Regions from separate parts of the Homo sapiens genome. Here all the other regions are linked to region 5. Evidence: promoter capture Hi-C in 16 types of primary human blood cells and fetal thymus (Javierre and others, 2016). All regions are on one chromosome and are shown on one strand. Each heading gives the region's core, a stretch centred on a gene start or on the middle of the fragment in contact. The rest is flanking DNA. Distances are from core to core; before and after follow the strand shown. Region 1 has its middle 3.0 kb from the start of CYRIB. Region 2 has its middle 260 kb from the start of ASAP1. Region 3 overlaps ASAP1 (ArfGAP with SH3 domain, ankyrin repeat and PH domain 1). Region 4 overlaps ASAP1 (ArfGAP with SH3 domain, ankyrin repeat and PH domain 1). Region 5 holds the start of ASAP1 (ArfGAP with SH3 domain, ankyrin repeat and PH domain 1).

The links. The method cuts DNA at HindIII sites, captures the fragments that hold promoters and counts their contacts. A CHiCAGO score of 5 or more calls a contact.
Region 1: a fragment that was not itself captured here is called in contact with the fragment with the promoter of ASAP1 in region 5 in 1 of 17 cell types (activated CD4 T cells); the score reaches 5.2 in activated CD4 T cells.
Region 2: a contact is called between a fragment that was not itself captured here and the fragment with the promoter of ASAP1 in region 5, in 1 of 17 cell types (M1 macrophages). The highest score is 5.7, in M1 macrophages.
Region 3: a contact is called between a fragment that was not itself captured here and the fragment with the promoter of ASAP1 in region 5, in 3 of 17 cell types (naive CD4 T cells, naive CD8 T cells and total CD4 T cells). The highest score is 5.5, in naive CD4 T cells.
Region 4: a fragment that was not itself captured here is called in contact with the fragment with the promoter of ASAP1 in region 5 in 1 of 17 cell types (total CD8 T cells); the score reaches 5.8 in total CD8 T cells.

Annotation. Positions count from the first base shown.
Region 1 is chr8:130,017,340-130,021,760 of GRCh38, forward strand. No RefSeq gene overlaps it. Among named protein-coding and RNA genes, the nearest start is that of CYRIB, 3.0 kb to the left of the region's middle. The HindIII fragment of the contact is 1,008 bases long and covers 825-1,832 here.
Region 2 is chr8:130,699,191-130,703,757 of GRCh38, forward strand. No RefSeq gene overlaps it. Among named protein-coding and RNA genes, the nearest start is that of ASAP1, 260 kb to the left of the region's middle. The HindIII fragment of the contact is 2,535 bases long and covers 1,925-4,459 here.
Region 3 is chr8:130,089,474-130,093,657 of GRCh38, forward strand. ASAP1 (ArfGAP with SH3 domain, ankyrin repeat and PH domain 1) reads right to left here. Exons shown (of 30, transcript NM_018482.4): 25 at 2,500-2,670. Among named protein-coding and RNA genes, the nearest start is that of ASAP1-IT2, 6.8 kb to the left of the region's middle. The HindIII fragment of the contact is 2,869 bases long and covers 1,495-4,184 here.
Region 4 is chr8:130,068,365-130,073,084 of GRCh38, forward strand. All of the region lies in intron 27 of ASAP1 (ArfGAP with SH3 domain, ankyrin repeat and PH domain 1), which reads right to left. It also overlaps the pseudogene RNU6-1255P. Among named protein-coding and RNA genes, the nearest start is that of ASAP1-IT2, 14 kb to the right of the region's middle. RefSeq lists an enhancer at 1,267-2,149. The HindIII fragment of the contact is 223 bases long and covers 1,317-1,539 here.
Region 5 is chr8:130,442,416-130,446,783 of GRCh38, forward strand. ASAP1 (ArfGAP with SH3 domain, ankyrin repeat and PH domain 1) reads right to left here and starts at 1,259. Exons shown (of 30, transcript NM_018482.4): 1 at 1,045-1,259. RefSeq lists silencers at 814-893, 944-1,103, 1,114-1,203, 1,244-1,343. The HindIII fragment of the contact is 9,673 bases long and covers 100-4,368 here.

The sequences.
Region 1 (4,421 bases), core at 79-2,578, 430 kb before region 5:
TACAGAAATTCCCACATAAAAAGCTCCTCGCCATAATTCCAGTTTCAGGTATTATGGGAGACCTCATCTTTCCCCTGATCTAGAATGGAAAATACTGTGTTTTTCTCCCTGTAACAGGACATGCCTAGGAAACTGATACTCTCCTTCCCTCTGCCTTGCTCCCCTGGCCCAGAAGCCCATCCTATCATTATCTTGACATTCAACCAGAAATTTCTCGGGAAGATAGACAACATTCTCTCAAGTATCTTTCTGCTGTCCTCTAGCAGGGTATCAAAAGGGTTACATCAAAGGCTTCCATTGTCTTTCCACCTCCACCTCCAGCTATAGGGGGGTTGGAGTGTGCTCACATCATACTCAGTGCTGAGTTACCTGATTAGGAGCCAGTTGTTCCATTTCTTTTCTTTTTTCTTTCTTTTTTTTTTTTTTGTCTAAGACAGGATTTTGCTCTGTTTCCCAGGCTAGGTAGCGCAGTGATGCGATAGCTCACTGCAGCCTCAAATTCCTGGGCTCAAGCGATCCTCCCACCTCAGCCTCCCGAGTTGCTGGGACCACGGGTATGCACCACCATGCTCAGCTAATTTTTATAGATTTTTGTAGAGGTGGGTCTCCCTGTGTTGCCCTGGCTGGCCTGTTTCTCCTGGGCTCAAGGGATCCTCCCTGCCTCCGCCTCCCAAAGTGTGGGGATTACAGGCATAAACCACCACACCCAGCCCGCCAATTCTTTAACAAAGGTGCCTTGCGCCTTCTCTTGGCCAGGCCCAGTTCTCGGAGCTGGGGACCCTGAGATGGTGCCATTTCAGCAGTACTCCCTGGACTGCTCTCTAAGCTTACCCGAGCGCCAGTGCCTTCATTCCTAAAGGAAGGGAACTAATGTCCACCTTGCTGTGGGGGCTGAGAAGTAGGTGGGGAAACACTGGGTCCTGAACTATGACCTTGAGGAGAAGCAGGAAAAGGGTTTGGAAGCAGGCAGAGCTGAGCCGCTTATAAAATGAGCATTAACAATTCTGAACATTTATAAAGTACTAAGCAGGTGCCAAGTGTGTGCAGGCCCATGAAGCAGGTTTATCATGGCCCAGTGTCATGCATTAAGATACTGCAGCTGGAAGAGAGATGAGATTTGCCCAAGATCACACAGATTAGACAGCGGTGGAGCTGGGTATGTACCTAGATTGTCTGACTCCAGAGCCCAAGCACTTAGCCACTCTCAGCCTCAGTTTGTTCATCTGTGAAATGGAATGGATAATAATGACTTCGTTAGGTTATGGTGAGGGTTAAATGAAATAGCGAATATATAGAACCTAATATGGATAGGACCCAGGAGAAAGCAATCACCATTGTTGTTACTATTATCATAACTGTTACAATTTACCTTTTTTTTTTTTTTTTTTTTTGAGGCAGGGTCTCACTTTGTCACCCAGGCTGGAATGCGGTGGCGCAATTTTGGCTCACTGCAATCTCTGCCTCCCGGGTTCAAGCAATTCTCATGCCTCAGCCTCCCAAGTAGCTGGGATTACAGATGTGCACCACCACGCCTGGCTCATTTTTGTATTTTTAGTAGAGGTGGAGTTTCACCATGTTGGCCAGGCTGGTCTCGAACTCCCAACCTCAGGCGGTCCGCCCACCTCAGCCTCCCAAAAACCGCACCCAGCCTAATTTTTGTATTGTTCTGTGATGACAAGATTTTGCCATGTTGCCCAGGCTGGTCTCAAACTCCTGAACTCAAGCGTTCCACCCGCCTCAGCCTCCCAAAGTGCTAGGATTACAGGCTCAAGCCACTGCGCCTGGCCTACCATAATAATTGTTAAAGGCATGAGGTAAGGAACTTTCAGGCAAGCTTGGGATCTGTAAATAGTTTGATGTGAGCGTAACATGGAATGCAAATTTGGGGGTCCAGGAAGCAGGGAAGAATAGATGAAGGTGAGGGCAGGGCTTGGATGCCTGCTAGCCTGCACTCTACTGAATTCTGAAATATGTGGGATGGAGAGTCTAACTCTGATGTGTGTGTCTCAGAGGAGAAAGTCTCCATTCACTGGATACAGTGAGGCTGAGAGCATGAGCCTAGGCTCACTCTGATCCTGATAGGTTTGACCAATTCAAGCCATTGGGAACCTGGGAATAATACCCGGGGAAACCTCTGGCAATTCTGTAGTGACTGCTCTGTTTCCCCGGGATGTCAACCCTGACAATGGTAGGCAGAAGTCCAGCATCCTATAGACAGCACTGTCTTTGGAGTTGGGAAAGCCTGCCTGCCATTTTCAGCTGTGCAATTCTGGGCAAGTCATTTAACCTCTGACTTCTTGAATGTTCTTATCTGTAAAGTGGGAATAATAACATTATCTTCTGTTGTTGAGAGGACTATGTAAGAAAATGAGTTTTTCATGCTTTATAACTGGAAAGCAGCATGCACATTTTACTTTCAACATTAGAATCTGGTGCTTTCATTGGCCAAGCAAAGAATCTTGAAAAACCAAGATTTTAAAAATTAAAAATTAAAAAAGAAGGCTGTGCTTTCATAGCACATGTGGTCCACACAGCTTTCAAGCAAAAAAAAAAAAATAGCTATTTCCTTCATATATGCAAAAGTCCCTCAAAAATATTCCTCCAAAATGCATTTCCCTGCTGAGCATTTGCAAGAGTGCTATTATGTACAAAAGGTAACAGAAGGTAAAGTTGGGAGACACAGAGACTCAGTTTTTGTCCTGCTGTTAGTATTTTGCAATTAAGCCCACTCCACATCCCATCGTGATAAAAGCAAACTCAGCGGCATTAGTCTCCTCACACCTGCTTTTCAGTCTCCTCACACCTCTGGCCATTGGGAACCGAAAGGGAAAACTACGCCCAAGCTCACTAAGGAATGCCGTCCTGGCACTGGAGCACAGCCCTCGGAAGATGCTTCAGAGGCTCAGCTAGCCCCTTTAGGCTGGGAATCCCACTCAGTGAGGTGGAATGACTTCCCGGGACACACAGAGCTAACCCTCAAGTTGGAACAGGGTCTTTACCGGGAGATGCAGAGCCTCGGGCTTCAAAGGCTGATAAGTGATTGTTTCCTGGGGCTGGGAGGAGGGGAGAATGGGGAGTAACTGCTTAATGGATATAGGGCTTCTTTTGGGGGTGACAAAAATATTTTGGAATTAAATCAAGTGTGGTAGTTGCACATTAGTGAATGTACCACATGCCACCCAATTGTTCACTTTAAAATGGTTAGCTATGTGTCATATGAATTTCACCTGAATTTTAGGGAAAGAATAACTTGACGGATAAAAAGCTAGTGAGCAGAACCTTAAGTATATTTTCAGTATTTCAGTATATCCACAATAGCATTGCAGAAATGAACCAATATGTCAGAATCATAGCAACAGAGTGCGGTAACTAAGAGCAGCCGGTTTATGTAACTAATCCTTTCACAATGGAAAGTAAAAGGATTTAGGATTGAATAATGTAGTTTGAATATTATTGTTATTATTATAACTTAATTGGTGCTTTTTGTGTTTTTTGAGGGTTTTTTGTTTGTTTGTTTGTTTTTCGGTAGAGACGGGGTTCCAATATGTTGCCCAGGCTAGTCTCGAACTCCTGACCTCAAGCAATCCTCCTGCCTCAGACTCCTAAAGTGGGATTACAGGCATGAGCCACCACAGCCCGCTCATTAATTTGTGTTTCTGAAGAAGAGTGTAACATAGTGGAAAAACCAGGCTCAATTTAGAGAGAGCTGAATTCAACTCCTGCCTTTAGTTCCTATTGGCTGCAGGGGCTTGGAAAACTACTGAGCCTCTCTACGCCTTGCGTTTCCTCATCAGGCAAAATGGGGGCGGAGATGCTGCGTCACCGTCATCTCAGGACTGTGGGGGGGACTGGGTGGGACAGCATAGGTGACATTCACCCGGAAGGTGCCTCATCGGTGACAGCTATTGTTATTGTTGTCATTGTCGCCATCGTTGTTGTTACTATACGGTGTAGAAAATCTTTCAGAACATGGACCCATGGGGAAAACCGGGTACATCTTAGTCCATTAGGGCTTCTGCGACAAAGCACCACAGACTGCATGGCTTATAAACGACAGAAGTTTCCTTCTTGCAGTTCTGGAGTCTGGAAGTCCAAGATCGGGGTGCCGGCATGGTCAGATTCTGGTGGGGGTCCTCTTCCCAGCTGCAGATTTCTGCCTCCTCGCTGCATCCTCAAGTAGTGGAAGGGCCAGAGGAGCTCTCAGGGGTCTCTTTTACAAGGACACTTGTGCACTCATGAGGCCCCCACCCCGATGACCTAATCACCTCCCAAAGGCCCCACCTCCTAATACCATCACATTGCGGGCTTAGGATTTCAACTTACAAATTGTGGGGGGACACATGCAGTTCATCTCAGGGTAATTTTAGAAATTGCTGCCTACAGCCTAGTTCCAAGTCAGGAACTGTACATGCTACAGTTAC
Region 2 (4,567 bases), core at 1,942-4,441, 260 kb after region 5:
GAGCTGGATCCTGCATTTAATATTTCCCTCCGCTGAAAGTGGTAAAGGTAGCACCTTTGCAGTGTGTCAGGTAATTCTGGGAAAGGCTGTAGAAAGGGAAGTCCTAAACTTTTGCATTTTTTCGGATTTGCTTTGAGAGCTCACCTAGCTTATCCACAGAGGCTTGGCGGGGACAGCTGGCCAGTGTGGTGGGGGAGGAGGGAACTTAGAATGGCTTAAACGGCGTTTCTCATACTTCAGTTTTTTTTTTTTTCTTTTTGGGTAACATTGCATTATTTTTGCTTTACCTGTACACTTTCTGTGCTAATCTTTACTGATTATTTTCCTTTAAATCAACTTACTATTAAACCCAACCTTTTCTTTTTTTCTTTTTTATTTATTTATTTTTAATTTATTATTATTATACTTTAAGTTTTAGGGTACATGTGCACAATGTGCAGGTTAGTTACATATGTATACATGTGCCATGCTGGTGCGCTGCACCCACTAACTCGTCATCTAGCATTAGGTATATCTCCCAATGCTATCCCTCCCCCCTCCCCCCACCCCACAACAGTCCCCAGAGTGTGATGTTCCCCTTCCTGTGTCCATGTGTTCTCATTGTTCATTTCCCACCTATGAGTGAGAATATGCGATGTTTGGTTTTTTGTTCTTGCGATAGTTTACTGAGAATGATGATTTCCAATTTCATCCATGTCCCTACAAAGGATGAGAACTCATCATTTTTTTATGGCTGCATAGTATTCCATGGTGTATATGTGCCACATTTTCTTAATCCAGTCTATCATTGTTGGACATTTGGGTTGGTTCCAAGTCTTTGCTATTGTGAATAATGCCGCAATAAACATACATGTGCATGTGTCTTTATAGCAGCATGATTTATAGTCCTTTGGGTATATACCCAGTAATGGGATGGCTGGTAAACCCAACATTTTCATAAAAATGTTAGGTAGGTTTGCTTTTGCACCAACCTAAAAATATGTTTGAAATTTTGGCTTTGAAGTTATATATATGTGTATATATGTTATAGGTATGTGTGTGTGTGTATCCCCACCCAAAGAGCAGAGATAAAATAATTACCACCCTAGAATTACGTAGAAAATTTGTTTAAGCATAAAAGCAGGGGCTGAATGTGGTGCTTATGTCTGTAATCCCAGCAATTTGGGAGGCTGAGGTGGGAAGATCGCTTGAGCCCAGGATTTCAAGACCAACCTGGGCAACATAGAGAGACTCCCATCTCTACAAAAAATTAAAAAATTATCTAGGAATAGTGGCTATACCTGTAGTCCCAGCTACTCTGGAGGCTGAGGTAGGAGGATCGCTTGAGCCCGGGAAGTCGAAGCTACAATGAGCTGTGATTGCACCACTACACTCCAGTCTGGATGACAGCATGAGACCCTGTCTCAAAAAAATGAAATAAAATAAAAAGAAAGAATGTAAAGGAAATTACAGCCCAAAGAACTACAAAATGATAAAATTCATCAAGAAGAAAAACAAATATGGAAGAAAGAAGTAAGGTTCAAGAAAATACTGTAAACAAAGAAACTGTGGAAATATGTAGTTACTCATGAACTATTTAGAGTAAAACCTACACATGAACACACACACACACACACACACACCTTTTTGGATTTAAATAAAACAATGGAAGAAAAATTTTAGACAATAATAACGTAAAAGCTAGAAATGGGGCAGTTCTAATGATTTAAGACAGGGGCGTCCAATCTTTTGGCTTCCCTGGCCACTTTGGAAGAAGAATTGTCTTGGGTCACACATAAAATACATAACATTAATGACAACTGATGAGCAAAAAAAAAGTAAAAAGAAAAATCTCATAAAGTTTTAAGAAAGTTTACGAATTTGTGTTGGGTTGCATTGAAAGCCATCCTGGACTGCACATGGCCTGTGGGCCGTGGGTTGGACAAGCTTGATTTAAAACATGCCAAGTGTCTTGTCCTATTTGAAAGTGAGATAGAGATAATAAATTTGGACTTCATGAGAAAAAACTAAAGAAATATTACGTAAATGCAGTAGTCCCCCCTTATTCACAATTTCACTTTCCATGGCTTCAGTTACCCACGGTGTAGCACAATACGATATTTTGAGAGAGAGGGAGACCACATTTATATAACGTTTATTGCAGTATATTGTTATAATTGCTTTATTGTATTATTAGCAATTGTTAATCTCTTACTGTGTCTAATTTATAAATTAAACTTTGTCATAGGTATACATGTATAGGAAAAACATATATATGGCGATCAGTACTATCCGTGGTTTCAGGCAGGTAGTGGAGGTCTTGGGACATATTCCCTGCCAATAAGGGGGAATTACTGTAGGTCGGTATTAATATGTCTCAAATATTTAGCATTTTTTGAGGAAAGAAGAAGCATTGTATGTGACAGATTGATTTTTAAAACATGCTCAATTCTTTGTCCCTCCTTATGCAAATAACTTTGCAGGTCCTCTTAACAAAAGTCTCTCTCTCTGTTTTTTTATTTAAATCCCTTTAATCTGGGCTAGTTTGTGACTTTCTTTGGCAAGGGAATGTTCTGGAAGTAACGCTGTGCCAGTTTTGAGCATAGCTCTTAAGAAGCCTTTGTGGTTTTGGAGCCCCAGCAGTGCCATGGGAACAAGGTAGGGCTAGCCTGCTGGGAGATGAGAGAACTGTGGCTCAGTTACATCTGTTGTTATTGCTAACAGCCAGCCAACACCAGCCATGTGACTGAAGCCGTCCCAGAGCAGCCAACTCCCAACCAGCCCACTGTCTGATCAAGATGCATGAGCATGCCCAGCTGAGATTAGCTGAACCTGGCCCAGATCAACAAGACTGTCCAGTTGACCCATAGACTCATGTGTCATAATAAGTGCTTATTTTTTTAAGCTGTTGCATTTTTAGCTGGTTTGTTAAACAGCAATAGTTAATAGTATCCTGCATGCTACAGTAGAAATATTCATGAATAAGATGTAATGAACATGAACTTATGTAGACCTTGTAATATAGTTTAAAATATGTGAAGCTAAAATTGATGGAATTATAAGAAAAATTGATGTAGCTATACTTTTAAGAGCAGATTTAATATATTTATTTATATTTATTTAATATATTTATTTATTGGTAGCTCTTTGACTTATAGGTCAAGAGCTACCAATATATTAATATATTTATTTATTAATATATTTATTTATTGGTAGCTCTTTAACCTATAGGTGAAGATATTTTGAGAGAGAGAGAAAGAGACCTATAGGTTGAACAGCTACCAATTCATTGAGAGTGCAGAAGTTTGAAAACTGAGAACAAACTTGAAATTATATATGTGGCTTCATGAAAACATAGAGGATGTACATACATACATACAAAACATTTATAAACACACAAGAACATTTATAGACAAACACACATAGAACATTTATAAACACTATGTATCAAACCATAAAGTTTTAACAAAATCCAAGACATTGTAGAGACCAGATTTCTTTCCAAAATGCAATTTAATTAGAAATTTACAAGTAAAATGTAACTTTTAAAAATACATATACAATTTGGACTAAGTAAAAACCCACTCCTCCTATGCCTCAAAGTAATCACAATAGAATTTAAAATCATTTAGAATGAAATGTTATTACTGCACATTCAAATGTGTGAGATGCAGTGAAACAGTAGGTGAGAGTAAACTTACAGCTTTAATCATGTTTATTAAAAAAACTAGAGGTATGGGAATTACATTTCAATAATAAAACAAAACAAATACCAAGAGACCATAAATCACAAAATACACAGCCAATGAAACCTGCTGATAGATGAGTTACCCTTACAGAGATAAAGAAAGCTACTATATAAAATAATAAAATGCTTTTCATTTGAGGAAATATAACAATGCTAAATTTTCATGCACCCAGTACCACAGCTTCAAATGAAATAGACCAACAGCATTAAAAAATATAAAAGATAATCAACAAATTCACCATCATCAATCATTCAATGTTTTTTCTGGAGGTCAAGCCAATATAATAAGATAAGAAGAAAGAAGTGATATCTAACATTTGGAAAGAAAGAAACATTATTTGCAATGTAATGATTATCTGCATAGTAAATGCAACAGAATCTACAGACGAATTATAAAAATAAATTTGGTGGTGTTAGAAAGAAGCGACATAAGCAAGATTAGTATTTAAAAGTTGATACGGTTTGAATGTTTGTCCCCTCCAAATCTCATGTTGAAATGTGATTTTCAGTGTTGGAGGTGGGGCCTGGTGGGAGGTGATAGAATCATGAGGGCAGATCCCTCATGAATGGCTTAACAACATCCCCTTGGTAATAAATGAGTTCTCGCTCAGTTAGTTCATGTGAGCTCTGGTTGTTTAAAAGAGTCTGGGACCTCCCTCTTTTTTTATCTCTTGCTTCTGCTTTCACTACATGACATCGCCTGATCTCTCTTTGCCTTCCACCATGATTGTAAGCTTCCTGAGACCTCACCAGAAGCAGATCCTGGCACCATGCTTCCTGTACAGCTTGCAGAACCAGAAGCCAATTAAACTTCTTTTTGTAAATTAACCATCCTCAGGT
Region 3 (4,184 bases), core at 1,679-4,178, 350 kb before region 5:
AGGTTTAGGGGAACATAAGAGCGTTGGAAAGGTGCGTCCACAGACGAAAGCTGCAGGCATCAGAGAGGAAGGTTGCCTAGAAGGTTGATCCCCTAAGTGCCTTGCTGATGACCTGTCTGGGCCCTGCCTTTGGCTTCTACAATACAATGTCAGCAGGAGGCGGGGAAGGGATAAAACCAAGCAGTAATAATACAACACAGACCTCAAGCACTAGGAGCAGAGCAACTATAACCTTTCTAAGGAGAAGTCCAGCCGTGTATGAATGCACCCACACATACATGCCCATTACTGACCTGTGTCTGTAGACAGTATATCTCACATACATGCATGTACACCAACATATGCTTTCTAAAATCAAAATTTAAAAAAAAATTTAAATTGTTTTTTAAATTTAAAATTTTGATTTCAACAATCAAAAGTCCATGCCATGTGGCGAACTGTCACTGTGGCCGAGGACAGATGATGATTTTTGTCCTTCAAGGCTGGTTGTAGGTGAGAGGCTCTTAGCTGGTGAGAAACTGACAGACAGAACAGCGTCCTCATCTGGAAAAGGTTATAAGGCTCCCAGCTCACTGTCAGGCACTCTTTTAAAGTAAATTTTGTTTAATAAAAAATGCTCCCTGACCCATCAACAATGGGGGGAAAAACGGCCAGCTGCTAGTCTTGCTCTTGAGTGATGTGAAAATCTAAAAAAGTGATGATTTTCAAGCCAGAAAGCAGAAATTTGGTAAATTTATTTGAGGAATGTTCGAGTCTATACAATGTGAATAAAGGCACTTCAAACCTTAAGAAATAAAGCCACTTAAACAAGAGGATTAAAACTTAAGAGAAATTTGGAAAGGAGGTTAATTTGTGATATGAAACGCTGATGTGAAACTTGTGACTTTCATGGAATGTTATTTGGGGGAAAGGCCTTTTTGATGAAATCTGGGGATCCCGAAGGCCTTACACAGCAGCCTCTGAAAATGTCACGGACATCCTTAGTCTTTATGTACATATGTGCTAGCACACCTCAATTGTTCTTGCCTGGCTTGTGGGAACTAATTCATTAACACCAAACTCCAATGTCTCCTCTTCTCTAAACCTTCCCTGGCTTTCCTCTAAAGTCTGACATTCAGTTTTCTGGCATTTCTAGTGTTTAGACAACATGTCTATCCTGATAGTAAAGAACATGTGCTCTAATGACTTACCCACGTGTGTCCTGCATTAGACCATGAACTCCACGAGCATATGGACTGAGAAGGCCCAAGCAAGGGGCATAGTAAGTGCCTCAAGTAAGCAAACAGAGTCAGAGAATGAACGGCTAAATGCACACACATGCTTGCACACACATAACCCGGGGTGTCTGGGCCAGATGGTGAACAGGTGACAATCAGCAACGGGACAATATAACTTTCCCCCAAAACTCAAAACACAAAAAATATGAAGAAAGCCACAATGAAACTCCACAGCAGGAAGAGGTGAGACACACAAACTAACAAATTTATTCAGCAAAGCTTCTGTGAGTGTCTGTCACGGGCCAAGACCCTGTTTCGTGATGGGGTGACCCCTAAGTCGCTAGCAGGCTAGTAGTAAAGATGGGAATTATGTCCCTTGTAGATGGGAATTTGTCATGTGCAGTCAATGTCACTGAAATGATTAACAAGCTGACTCTGGGCAAATTTATTCATTCTCAAGTGATTCCTGAATATTCACTGTATGCCAGGCGTGGTTCCAGTAAACACTGGTGAGAACAAGACCAAGACAAGGTTCTGGCTCTCATGGAGCTTACATTTTAGTGGGGCGGCTTACATTCTGTGATAAGGTGTTTGGGGGAAAACAGGTAGGGAGGAAGCTGCGTTGGAGGGCGGGGGAGATAGACATGCTGGCTGAGAACTCAAGGATGAAAGGGAAGCAGCTGTTCAAAAAGCATGACAGAGTTCCAGGGAGTGGGAGGGCCCTCAGGAGGCAGAGGATGGTGTATCCAAGAAGTGAAAGAAGGCCAGCCCTGAAGATAGAGTGGCAGGAGAGGGTCTAGGAGATAAGAGCCCGATCATGCAGGGCCCTGTGGGCCTTGATATAGGGAGCTTGCATTTATCTGAAGCTCAAAAGGAAATCTCAAAAGGGTGTTAAGGAGAAAAGTGACCATGAGCTGATTTACACTTTATAAGAAAACCATTCTGGCTGTTGTGAGGAAAATGGATTACTTTGCTTTTCTGAGCCTCTGTTTCCTTATATATAAACGAGACTAATAATACCTACCTCACAGAGTTGCTATTATAATTGAGTAAGATTTAGGAAGTGCTCAGCACCTTTTAGTTTTTAATGGCCTAAATATTTTTCAAAATGTTCCTTTCCCTTAAGAGACAGGTAGAATCATGTCATATATACCCGAGTCAGCACCCAGCATGTGTGTGCATTTTGGCACACTTTCTGAATGTGCTAACAGGCCACTGCCCAGTGGAGCCCCACACGCTGCCTGGCCCCAGCAGCTTTGGCCCTGACTTTAGGATAACTTACCCCAAGGAACTGCGCCTTTGTTTGGGGGCCCATGAGGTAGTGGGCTGGGAGGGTCGGATAGGGTTCTCTTGTGTCCGGGTGGTGGGGGAGGAGGCCTCTTCTTGGATAGGGTGGAGCTGCCACTAGAGGTCTGGGTGCTTAGAGGGAGTGTTGAAGGTGGGCCAGTTGGACCTAGAAAGGAAATTGAATGGGGGCAGGAAGATTAATCCCAGTCTCACAGATACAAAACAGCCAGTATGAAATCACTTCCACACATCAGAATGTGGTATGACACACAGAGACAAAAGCAAAAGGCTGGATATGGCTAACTCCATCAACCTAATAACTCACAAGTAGGGTTTCAAAAATTTGGTTAAAAAAAAAATAAAATTGGCCAGGTGCAGTGGCTCATGCCTGTAATCCCCTGCACTGTAGAAAGCTGAGGTGGGAGGATTGCTTGAGGCCAAGAGTTTGAGACCAGCCTGGGTAACACAGCAAGACGCCATCTCTATAAAAATTTAAAAAATTAGCCAGGTGTGGTGGTGTGTGCTTGTAGTCTCAGCTACTTGGAAGACTGAGGTAGGAGGATCACTTGAAGTCAGGAGTTCGAGGATACACTGAGCTATGATTATGCCACTGCGCTCCAGCCTAGGCAACAGAGAAAAATTTACAACAAAGGTAAGAAGAGTGTGTGCTTTTAGGAACAAAATGCCAGTCAACACAGAATGCTACTGAGTTTAGATCATTTAGGTACAATGGGAAAAACAAACACACACACACATCTTAAAACAATAACTCCTTATAACCATCACAGAACCTACTGAAGGAGAAATCACACACCACTACCAGCAAAATCAACAGAGAAAGAACAGAGTACAGGCTAAGCCTTCACTGGGCCACAAGCTGAAACATGAAATGATTCATATAATAGAATTTTTCTTTCTACAACTTTTTCTTCTAGTCAGCAAACTGCCTGACGCTTTTCTTAAAAAAAAAAAAAAAAAAATTAAGGCTTTTCTAAATAATGAAGAAAGAACTGGACGTAAAGCATTACCTAGAAAAAAGAGAAATCCAAAAACCCTTTGCTCTAGAAACCAAACCATCTGTTATATTGGAAGCCTGAACAACATTTATATAGACACTGATTTTTATAGACTAAAAAAAAGACTCAACTTTCTCCAGAGCTAAAGACAAGACAGCAGGAATGATAGTAATATTCCACATACACACAAAAATGGGGTTCGTTTTTAAAAGCTGTTAAGGGAGTAGTGTATTTGATCTTAGTTTTGTTTATTCAAAGTGACATTGAAGTGGCTGGTGTGTGCCAGGTATTCCATGCTGGGCACTTTCACTACTATTGCTTTATTTAAGGTATATGGTTTAACTGTGTTCATGGCAAACTGCTTCTGTAAACGTTAAGAAAAAAAAGCTAGGACCAGGCACGGTGGCTCTCGCCTGTAACTCCAGCACTTTGAGAGGCCGAGGTGGGCAGATCACTTGAGGTCAGGAGTTCAAGACCAGCCTGGCCAACATGGTGAAACTCTGTCTCTACTAAAAATACAAAAATTAGCCAGGTGTGGCGGTGCACGCCTGTAGTCCCAGCTGCTCGGGAGGCTGAGGCTGGAGAATCGCTTGAACCCAGGAAGTGGCGGTTGCAATGAGCTGAGATCATGCCACTGCATTCCTGCCTGGCTGTCACAGCGAGA
Region 4 (4,720 bases), core at 178-2,677, 370 kb before region 5:
GAGACTTGTGGTTACCAAGAAGGTAGTCAATGTGAAGGAGGGGCAAAACTAAGTAACTATGGAAACTAGAGGGTATAGTGCGAAAGAACTGTTTCATTCTGTAGATCAGTATCATCAGCTTCCTGAGGAACCTTTACTAAAACGCACTGTAAGAGTGACTAATTTAGGGGCAGTATCTTTGGTTTTAAACACTACAGAGTAGAAGTACATGTTTGGATTGATGGGACCCACAGCTCACTATTGAACAACTGCATATGGGTATATATGATCCAGACACACAGGAGGCTATTCCTGCGGTAACTGGCAGCTTGGTGGAACAGATAAAAGCCACTGTAAGGTCTGTTCACCCTGAGAAGGGGGACTGTCCAACTCTACCTACAAATGTCAAGTGGGACACCCCAGATGCAGTAGCTGATATGCTCTGTATGCATGTGGGACTGGCTTTATGATGACAGGGCTATTCACACGCTGAACATGCCTGTTACCCAAGTCATGGTAAATGTGTGGTTAAGAGGGCCCCTTCTACATGGGCACCCCATGTGATATTACTCCTACAGAAATGAACAGTTCAAGAAGCCTTATTAAATTTGCTGTCTCAGCTTCCCTTCATGGGTCTTATAGATGCTAATAAAAATATTAGGTTAATTAACAAGAGAACAGGGAAAGGCAAAAGTGAGAGCCAAAGGACTCCTCCCAGGAAGGTGGAAATTTTAAAATGGTTATTAACAAATAAGGTGAAGAAAACACTGATAGGATAAAACTAAGAAGAAAAAGAAAGGGGAGAGTCATGGGACTCATCCCAGCAGGGTAGAAATCTTTAGATGGTTATTAAGAAATGGAATGAATAAAATGGAAATTGATACAGTTAAAACAAAGGTCTTTGTTTTTTGAGGCAGGGTCTTGCTCTGTCACCCAGGCTGGAGTGCAGTGGCGTGATCTTAGCTCATTGCAATCTCTGCCTCCCAGGCTCATGCAATCCTCCCACTTCGGCCTCCTGAGTAGCTGGGACTACAGGCATGTGGCACCACGCCTGGCTAATTTTGTGTATTTTATGTAGAGACAGGGTTCTGCCATGCTGCCCAGGCTGGTCTCAAACTCCTGAGCTCAAACAATCCACTCGCCTTAGCCTCCCAAAGTGCTGGGATTACAGGCATGAGCCACTGCGCTTACCAAAACAAAGGTCTTTTTTTGCTGTTGTTAAAAAATAACGTGTCATTCATGAGCAGGGGCCATGCTAATCTTCTCTGTATGGTTCCAATTTTAGCATATGTGCTGCCGAAGTGAGCACAACAAAGATCTTAATACAACATTATCGAAGCTTGGGTGGACCAAACCCCTCCGCTCTCCCAACATTAAACGGCCCTAACCCAGTTTACTGTATTTCTTGCAGTTTGAAGAAATTTTAAAAGTTGCAAGGTAGAGATTACAATGAAACATATGATATGAAATTGCCTGGGGCAAAAATGGGGCAGACTAATCAAAATAAAGATTGACAAAAGGTCCAGGGTCCTTTGGCTCAACCCTTGGCAGAAGACCCAAAGCTTTTTGCGCAAGAGAGAGTAAAATGGTCTGGGGGTGAAGAAGTTCCTGAAACTAGAATATAAAAATGTAAGGGTTGATAGGATGATGAAAGTTGGTATATTTGAACACACTTCATGTGAATTGACTGCATCTCTTTTTTTTTGTTTTTGAGACGGAGTCTCACTCTGTCGCCCAGGCTGGAGTGCAGTGGCGCAATCTCGGCTCACTGCAAGCTCCGCCTCCCGGGTTCACGCCATTCTCCTGCCTCAGCCTCCTGAGTAGCTGGGACTACAGGCGCCCGTCACCATGCCCGGCTAATTTTTTCTATTTTTTAGTAGAGACGGGGTTTCACCGTGTTAGCCAGGATGGTCTCCATCTCCTGACCTCCTGATCTGCCCACCTTGGCCTCTCAAAGTGCTGGGATTACAGGCGTGAGCCACCGTGCCCGGCCGACTGCATCTCTTTTATTTGATTGTATCATGGTAATGAACACAGTATCACACTGGAGAATGTTTCCCCTACCTGGTACTATAAAACAGAAGGCATGTAAATCTGCTCTCCAATATTAATTGGACATGCCCAAGCCTGCAGAGTGCAGAGTAGAAGCTAGAGTGCTGGCAGGGACAAACTCTCCACTTGATAACCCCCTGTGGAGCAGTTCCTGGGGCTTATGGCAAAAGTGTTTTGAGCACCTCCCAGCAACAACTACTGGGACTTTGGAATAGAGAATTTCCACTTAAGGGACCTTGCTATGAAATGTTAGTTGAAGTTACCCCTATGACATCTGAAATACCCATGCTGTCTCAGGTGATGTCCAAGAACATTCTAATGGGGAAGGCAGTGCCTAGAAGAGTTCCACAATAAAATGGAAATGGTTTATAGAGGATCATGCTACCTGAGGAACTCAAGGAGGAGATACTCCTTGAGGGGAGAGAGGGAGAGAGGGAGAGAGAGGGAGAGAGGGAGAGAGAGGGAGAGAGGGAGAGAGAGGGAGAGAGGGAGAGAGGGAGAGAGGGAGGGAGAGAGAGGGGGAGAGAGAGGGGGAGAGAGAGGGGGAGAGAGAGGGGTAGAGAGAGGGGGAGAGAGAGGGGGAGGGGGGGAGAGAGAGAGAGAGAGGGGAGGGGGGGAGAGAGAGAGAGAGAGAGAGAGAGAGAGAGAGAGAAAGCAGAGTTTCCCCAAATCATCTAAGAAAAAAAAGTATTTTTTCTCCCCTACCCGATGCAGTGATCCTAGGACAGGAGTTGCTGGGACAGCAAAGATGATTTTTGTTTTTTAGCTATGGGGTCTCACTGTATTGCCTGGGTTGGTCTCCAACTCCTGACTTCAATCCATCCTCCCATCCTTCCACAGAGCTTAGATTATAGGTATGAGCCACTGCGCCCAACACTTCAAAAAATTTTTAGCAGGAATGCTAAGTAAAAAACTGTAACCATGTTTTTAAATATTATGTCAAAATTCCTGAGGGCATCATGGGGGTGAGATGTGCCTTCACCCCTTCTAACAAAATTGGGGCTAACAGTGAATATGGCCGGTGGTAAAAATAGCTCATTGGTTCTGCATCTATGTAGCCTCACCCTATCTGAATGGGAGTGGACTGAGGAGCTACTTGCTAGACTTGTATTGCTGCTTGTAATCTAGACCAGCACAGTGGTGATTCTAATGTCCCTTCAAAAAAGTTTGGAGATTAATGGAGAGAAGGAGAAATAGTAGCTGAGAGTAAACAAATAAATGGGCAAATGAGACAACTCAAAAGAGTCTCAGGGCAAGAGATGACACTGCCTCTTAGCTCAATGATTCCACATGCCTGAGAGGGTGAAGCTGTGTATTTACCCAGACCACTCCTGCTTGTGGAACCTGACAATATTGAGAGGAAACCTGCAAACCTGAGTGTCCTCATCATCCTGGGAGACATTCATACACTATGATGGACTGGACTAATTATTAATGATTGTGTATATATATGTTTTTTGATATAAAGGATCCACAGTAGAAAACCAGGGAGTAGGCTGTGGTGCTATGATATGTATTAGTTTTCGTCCACAGTTGCTGGCTTATAACCCTTGTTATAGTCATCTGTTATTATGTTAGGTGTGTCAGGCCTCTGAGGCAGGCCCCTGACCTTCTCTTGCCCTCTTATTACCTATCCCAAGGCAGGACTCTATTCCGATTGTGGGTCTTAAAACACCTTCCATGAGAGGGTCCTACCCTATACCCTGGGGGAAGGAATGCTGACATCATGAAGCTTTCATAAAAAGCCAAGAGGACAGGGTTCAGTGAGCCTCTGGAGAGCTGACCATGTGGAGGCTCCTGGAGTTTCCAGAAAGGGCTTGGAAGCTCTGCACCTGATATAGCTTGGCTGTGTCCCCACCCAAATTTCACCTTGAATTGTAGCCCCCATAATTTCTACATGTTGTGGGAGGGATCTGATGGGAGATAATTGAATCATGGGGGCAGTTCCCCCCATACTGTTCTCATGGTAGTGAATAAGTCTCATGAAATCTGATGGTTTTATAAGGGGTTTCCCCTTTTGCTTGGCTCTCATTTTTCTCTTGCCTGCTGCCATGTAAGACGTGCCTTTCGCCTTCTGCCATGATTGCGAGGCCTCCCCTGCCACATGGAACTGTGAGTCCATTAAACTTCTTTTTCTTTATAAATTACCCAGTCTCAGGTATGTCTTTATCAGCAGCGTGAAAACGGACTAATACAGCACCCCTTCCCCCATACTTCTCTCTACACATTTCTTTATCTGTATCCTTTGCAGTATCCTTTATGATAAACTGGTAAATGTGTTTCCCTGAGTTCTGTGAGCTGCTACAGCAAATTAAATGAATCCAAAGAGGGAGTTGTAGGAGCCCCACCTTGTAGCCAGTCAGTCAGAAGTTCTGAAGGCCTGGACTTGCAATTGATATGTGTGTGTGTGTGTGTGTGTGTGTGTGTGTGCGCGCGGGGGGGGGCAGTTTTGGGGACTGAGCTCTCACCCGGTGGGACTGGCACTATCTTCAGGTAGACAGTGTCGGAACTGAATTCGAGGACACCCAACTGGTGTCTGCTGCTTGGTGTGTGGGGAAAAATCCCCACACGTTTGTCACAGAAATCTTCTTCTGTGTTGATGATTGTTGTGATGTGAGAGCAGAGGAAAAACACAGTTAGAGAATTATCCCCCACAGGCATCAAGTGGCGATGTGAAATAGGCTGTTGT
Region 5 (4,368 bases), core at 9-2,508:
CGCATTTTCTTAAAGCTATCTGGCCGCGCTACAATTGCAAAACAGAAAGGCTTTGGGATGAAGGTTGCAATACAGATAACCCTGGCCTAAAAACTGATAAGCTTTTACAATCCCAAAACATTACTCAGCAATCCAGGTCCTGATGTCATCCCAGAATCAATCACGCCAAGATAACCTAACAGAGTAGACAGGGGAAAATGCGAGAGAAAGTTCTTTTGCTTTCCTGACGAGTACAGGTAAAGTTGAGGTCAAGTTAACGATGATGGTCTGCAGTTGACCATCCTTCTCCCTGAGCTACTGGAAAACCACATTATTAAAGGAAACTGCTTTAGAAGTGCCCAAGATGAACCTCTTGGGATGTATCAAACCGCAGAAAACCGGACACCGGCAAGTTTCTTTTTTCTTTGAAACTTCATGTCGCTCTCAGAAAACGCAGCAGGTCCCAAAATGGTACAAGCAGAAAACACAAGCCACTTCACGGTCCGCCCAGGAGCCAACCCCAAGCTCCAAGTAGGACTCCCCCCACCCCCTTCCCTTTCGTTTCTCTTCTTTTGCTTTAGGCAAGTGGCCTGGGGCCTGCCAAGCAGCGCCGGGTCCGGGTAGGGGCCGGGGGCCGCGGGGAACTTTCCTCGGCTGCACCAGAGACAATGCCGGGAGGGCGCCCCATCGGCGGGGTCCGGGCCGCCAAGCACGTCGTCCCGGGCCCTCCCCCGGAGGGGGACGCGAAACCCCCCAGGGCGGGCCCCGTCCCCGGCCCCACTGCAGGGGCCCCCTCTCCCGAGCTGGAGGCGAGGAGACCTCCCCCCCCCACCGGGCGGCCTCGCCCGGCCCCGCAGAGCCTGGCCGCGCGTCCCGCACACGCCCCAGCCCAGGGCCGGCGCCCTCCCCGCGGAGAAGGACACCCCGCTGCGAGAGGAGCCGGGAGCCCGCCCCGCGCCCCGTCCCGGCGCCCTTCTTCGCGCGAGAGACTGGGCAGGGGGCGCCCGCGACTGTGGGCGACTCCGCCCGGCCCCGCCGAGCGCGCCCGAGCGCCCCGCAACTCACCGGGACCTGGCGGGCCGCTGGGCATTATTCCATCGCGGGTTCGGCCGGGCGCTCGCGGCTCTCGGGTGGGAAAGCGAACTGCGACCGGGAAGCGCCGGCTGGGCGGGAGGCGCGGGCCCGGGGCTGCCCAGCGCACAGTGCTCGCCCGCGGCAGCGGCCAGGCCAGGCGAGGCGCGGGAGCCGAGCGCGGCGCAGGAAGGGGCGGGCGACCATGTGCCGAGGGGGAGGAGGCCGCGGCGACGCGAGCGGCTCGCACGATCCCGCTCGGCGGCGGAGGGCGCGGGTTTCAGGAAATCCAAACACTTCGACAGGAAATCGGAATCCTGACTAAGCATTCCCGGCCCCGAGCCGCTCCGCGCCGGGGGCTCCCGCCTCGCTTAACCCTTGGCCCGCCGGCAGCCACGAGGGGGGCGTGGGAGGGGCCCCAGACCTCGGCCGGGGTCGGGCGTCCTTCGCCTTCCGCCCCATGCCCCGGCCGGCCGGCCTCCTCCCCGCCTGAGGTGGAAGGGGTGGGATTTATCCACAGAAAACCCTGGACGCGGAAGGTGCCTTTCTAAGGCCGGGACAGCGGCAAAGGACGTGCCTGTCTTCCATCTGCAGAGGATGGACCTGCACTGTCCTGGCCGTTACCCCTATTTTCAGTAAAGGAATGATTTCACCAGGCTGCCCCCTTTCACCACTTCCTCTCTGCTCTTATAATTTTATTTTTGCCCAGTGCCAAGGGAACAGGACCTTCCCAGTCAGGATAGTATAGGAACAGTATGGAGAGTAATTGTGTGGGCTGCAGGCTCTGTGTCCGGTTGGAATATGGCCTTTTTTCTACTCATGTTACCTTGAGTAACTCGCTCAACTTTCCTGAGCCTCAGTTTCCATTTATGAAATGGATGTTAATTCCACCCTCATAGGTTTGATCTGGAAGCTGAATGTTTAGACAGGGACTGGCACATTGGAAACGCCCAAATAAATGATAGCCATGCTTGTCCTTATTATTACCATTAAAAGACATCAGAGAAAGGAGGATTTTAATTTGTGGGATGTATATTGTGCATATCTATGTCTACTTTCAAAGTCAGAGACAGTAGTCTTTCTTTAGAACTTAATTTCCCTCCTAATCATTGGGTGATTGTTTTTCTTTGCAGCATTTCAGAAACGGCTCTCTGCAGAGGAAATGGTTAGTGGCTGTGGCAGACCCCCTTCTGGTGAAATCCGAAACAGAAAACCTCACAAAATTTGGGATTTTGCTCCTAATCTGAGAGTCTGGGTGTAGTGGGGAGTGGGGGTTGTTAAACAGTCTGGAGCGGATTTACAAAGTTTGGGAAAACCAAAATCAATCTCTGACTGGGCAGAGAGGTCGGGCAGCCAATGAGTGATTCATTGTGGTTTCCCACGGAAATGCCACATTTCGGGGGTGTCTACCTGGAGGATGCAGCTTGGTGGTTTTGCTGTAAGTGTTTCAGATTCCTTTGAAACCCAATCAGACTTTGAAGAGGGAACAACATGCTCATGAGCGAAAACAGAAGCCTGAAATGAACCTGCTGGGAACTGAAAGTTGGGTACCAGCTCGTTTACTCCAAGTAAGGAACAGATACCAGTTTTAGACCCAGCATTGTTCCTTTTCTGCAATTCTCTCTCCGTGGCCAGAAGCAGTAGGACAGCTCTGAGCTGGGCACCAGGAGTCCCAGGGTCCTGCTCCAGGCCCACTGTAGCTGCCGTCCCCTCTGCCTGGAAGAACCCTTGTATGGCTGTTCTTGGCACGCAGCTCACAGCCCAGAAGTCAGCTCCGCAGATAGGTTTTCCCCAACCATGTGATCTGCTTGTCTCTGGCACCTACACCCCACCTCCACCTCTCCCAAACATAGCGCATCCTGTTTGATTGCTTCATAGCCCTTGTCACTGTTTAATGTAGCCTACATGATTGGTTGCTTATTTTTTATCTGCCCCCCACTCTCCCCACTGCATGGGTAAACTGCATTACAGCAGTACCTTTGCCTGTTTCCTTAGAACAGTGCTGGCCCATATGAGACCATCGATAAACACGTGTTGAATAAATGAAAGAAGCAAACAAACTAGAGTTGCAGATGGGACCTCTGCCTGAGGTAGGGTGGTTCACTCGGTCCCGCAGCTCCCTGTGGCTTCCTCTTTGGTGGAGAGATTCAAAAGGGAACGCCCAGTGCGGTGGAAGGAGCACCAGATGGCTCTATTAGTGCTTCTGGAAAACTAAAACTATAAGTAGGCCAGGCGCGGTGGCTCACGCCTGTAATCCCAGCACTTTGGGAGGCCGAGCAGGTAGATCACCTAAGGTCAGGAGTTTGAGACCAGTCTGGCCAACATGGTGAAACCCCGTGTCTACTAAAAATACAAAAAATTGCCGGGCGTGGTGGTGGGCACCTGTAATCCCAGCTTCTCCAGAGGCTGAGGCAGGAGAATCGCTTGAACCCGGGAGGCAGAGGTTGCAGTGAGCTGAGATCATGCCATTGCATCCCAGACAGGGTGACAGAGTGAGACTCCGTCTCAAAAAAAAAAAAAAAAAAAAAAAAAAAAAAAACCTAAGTAATTAAGACTGTCAAATGAGGTAACTATAGTCTCATTGGTATAGTCCCAGTTAATTACTCCCTCCTTTGTGCTTCCTTGGCATTTCTGTTTAAAGAATATATTTGTCATATTGTATACTCACTAGATGACTGTTCTCCTAAATCAGATGGAGGAAAGGAGTCCACATTTGTTGACCACTTGCTCTGAGTGGGTCCCTGAGCAAGGTGAACTTGAATTCATTTTAAGGCATCGGTTAAGTGCCTGTAATGTGCTAAAAAAATCTGGGCCCTACATGTGCAATGATGAAAAAGAACTATTCTTGCTAAGAAAGACAGGAAAGCTCTATCTAGTAAGCAGAGAGATAAGTACTCTTATAGAGTCATGTCCAGGGTATCCAGGGCTATTCAGAACATTGAAGGTGGAGTAGGGTGGAGATAAGTTGGAAAATGCTTCCAAGAAGTGGGTGCTCTTGAACGAACTTTCAAGGAGGAGATGGGACCTATGTAGCTAGATAAGGGGGCACAGGCCTGCCAACCAGAGTAACAAGCGTGAGTGTTAGTGATGCTCGGCTCCATGTCCCCTGGGCCCACCTCTGAGCTCACCGGCAGCTGCAATGAGCTGCCCTCTGTACAGAGAAACTGTCTATCCAAAGCAGGCCCCCTTTCTCCTCTCTACCAGGAGGCTTTCTCAAGGGCTGTGGGATCTTGCCTAGCCTGGAAGTTTCCAACAGCCCTGGGTCAGTCCTTAACCAAACAGTGGATGAATGTGTCAGCCTCCCCTTCCCTAAGGAAG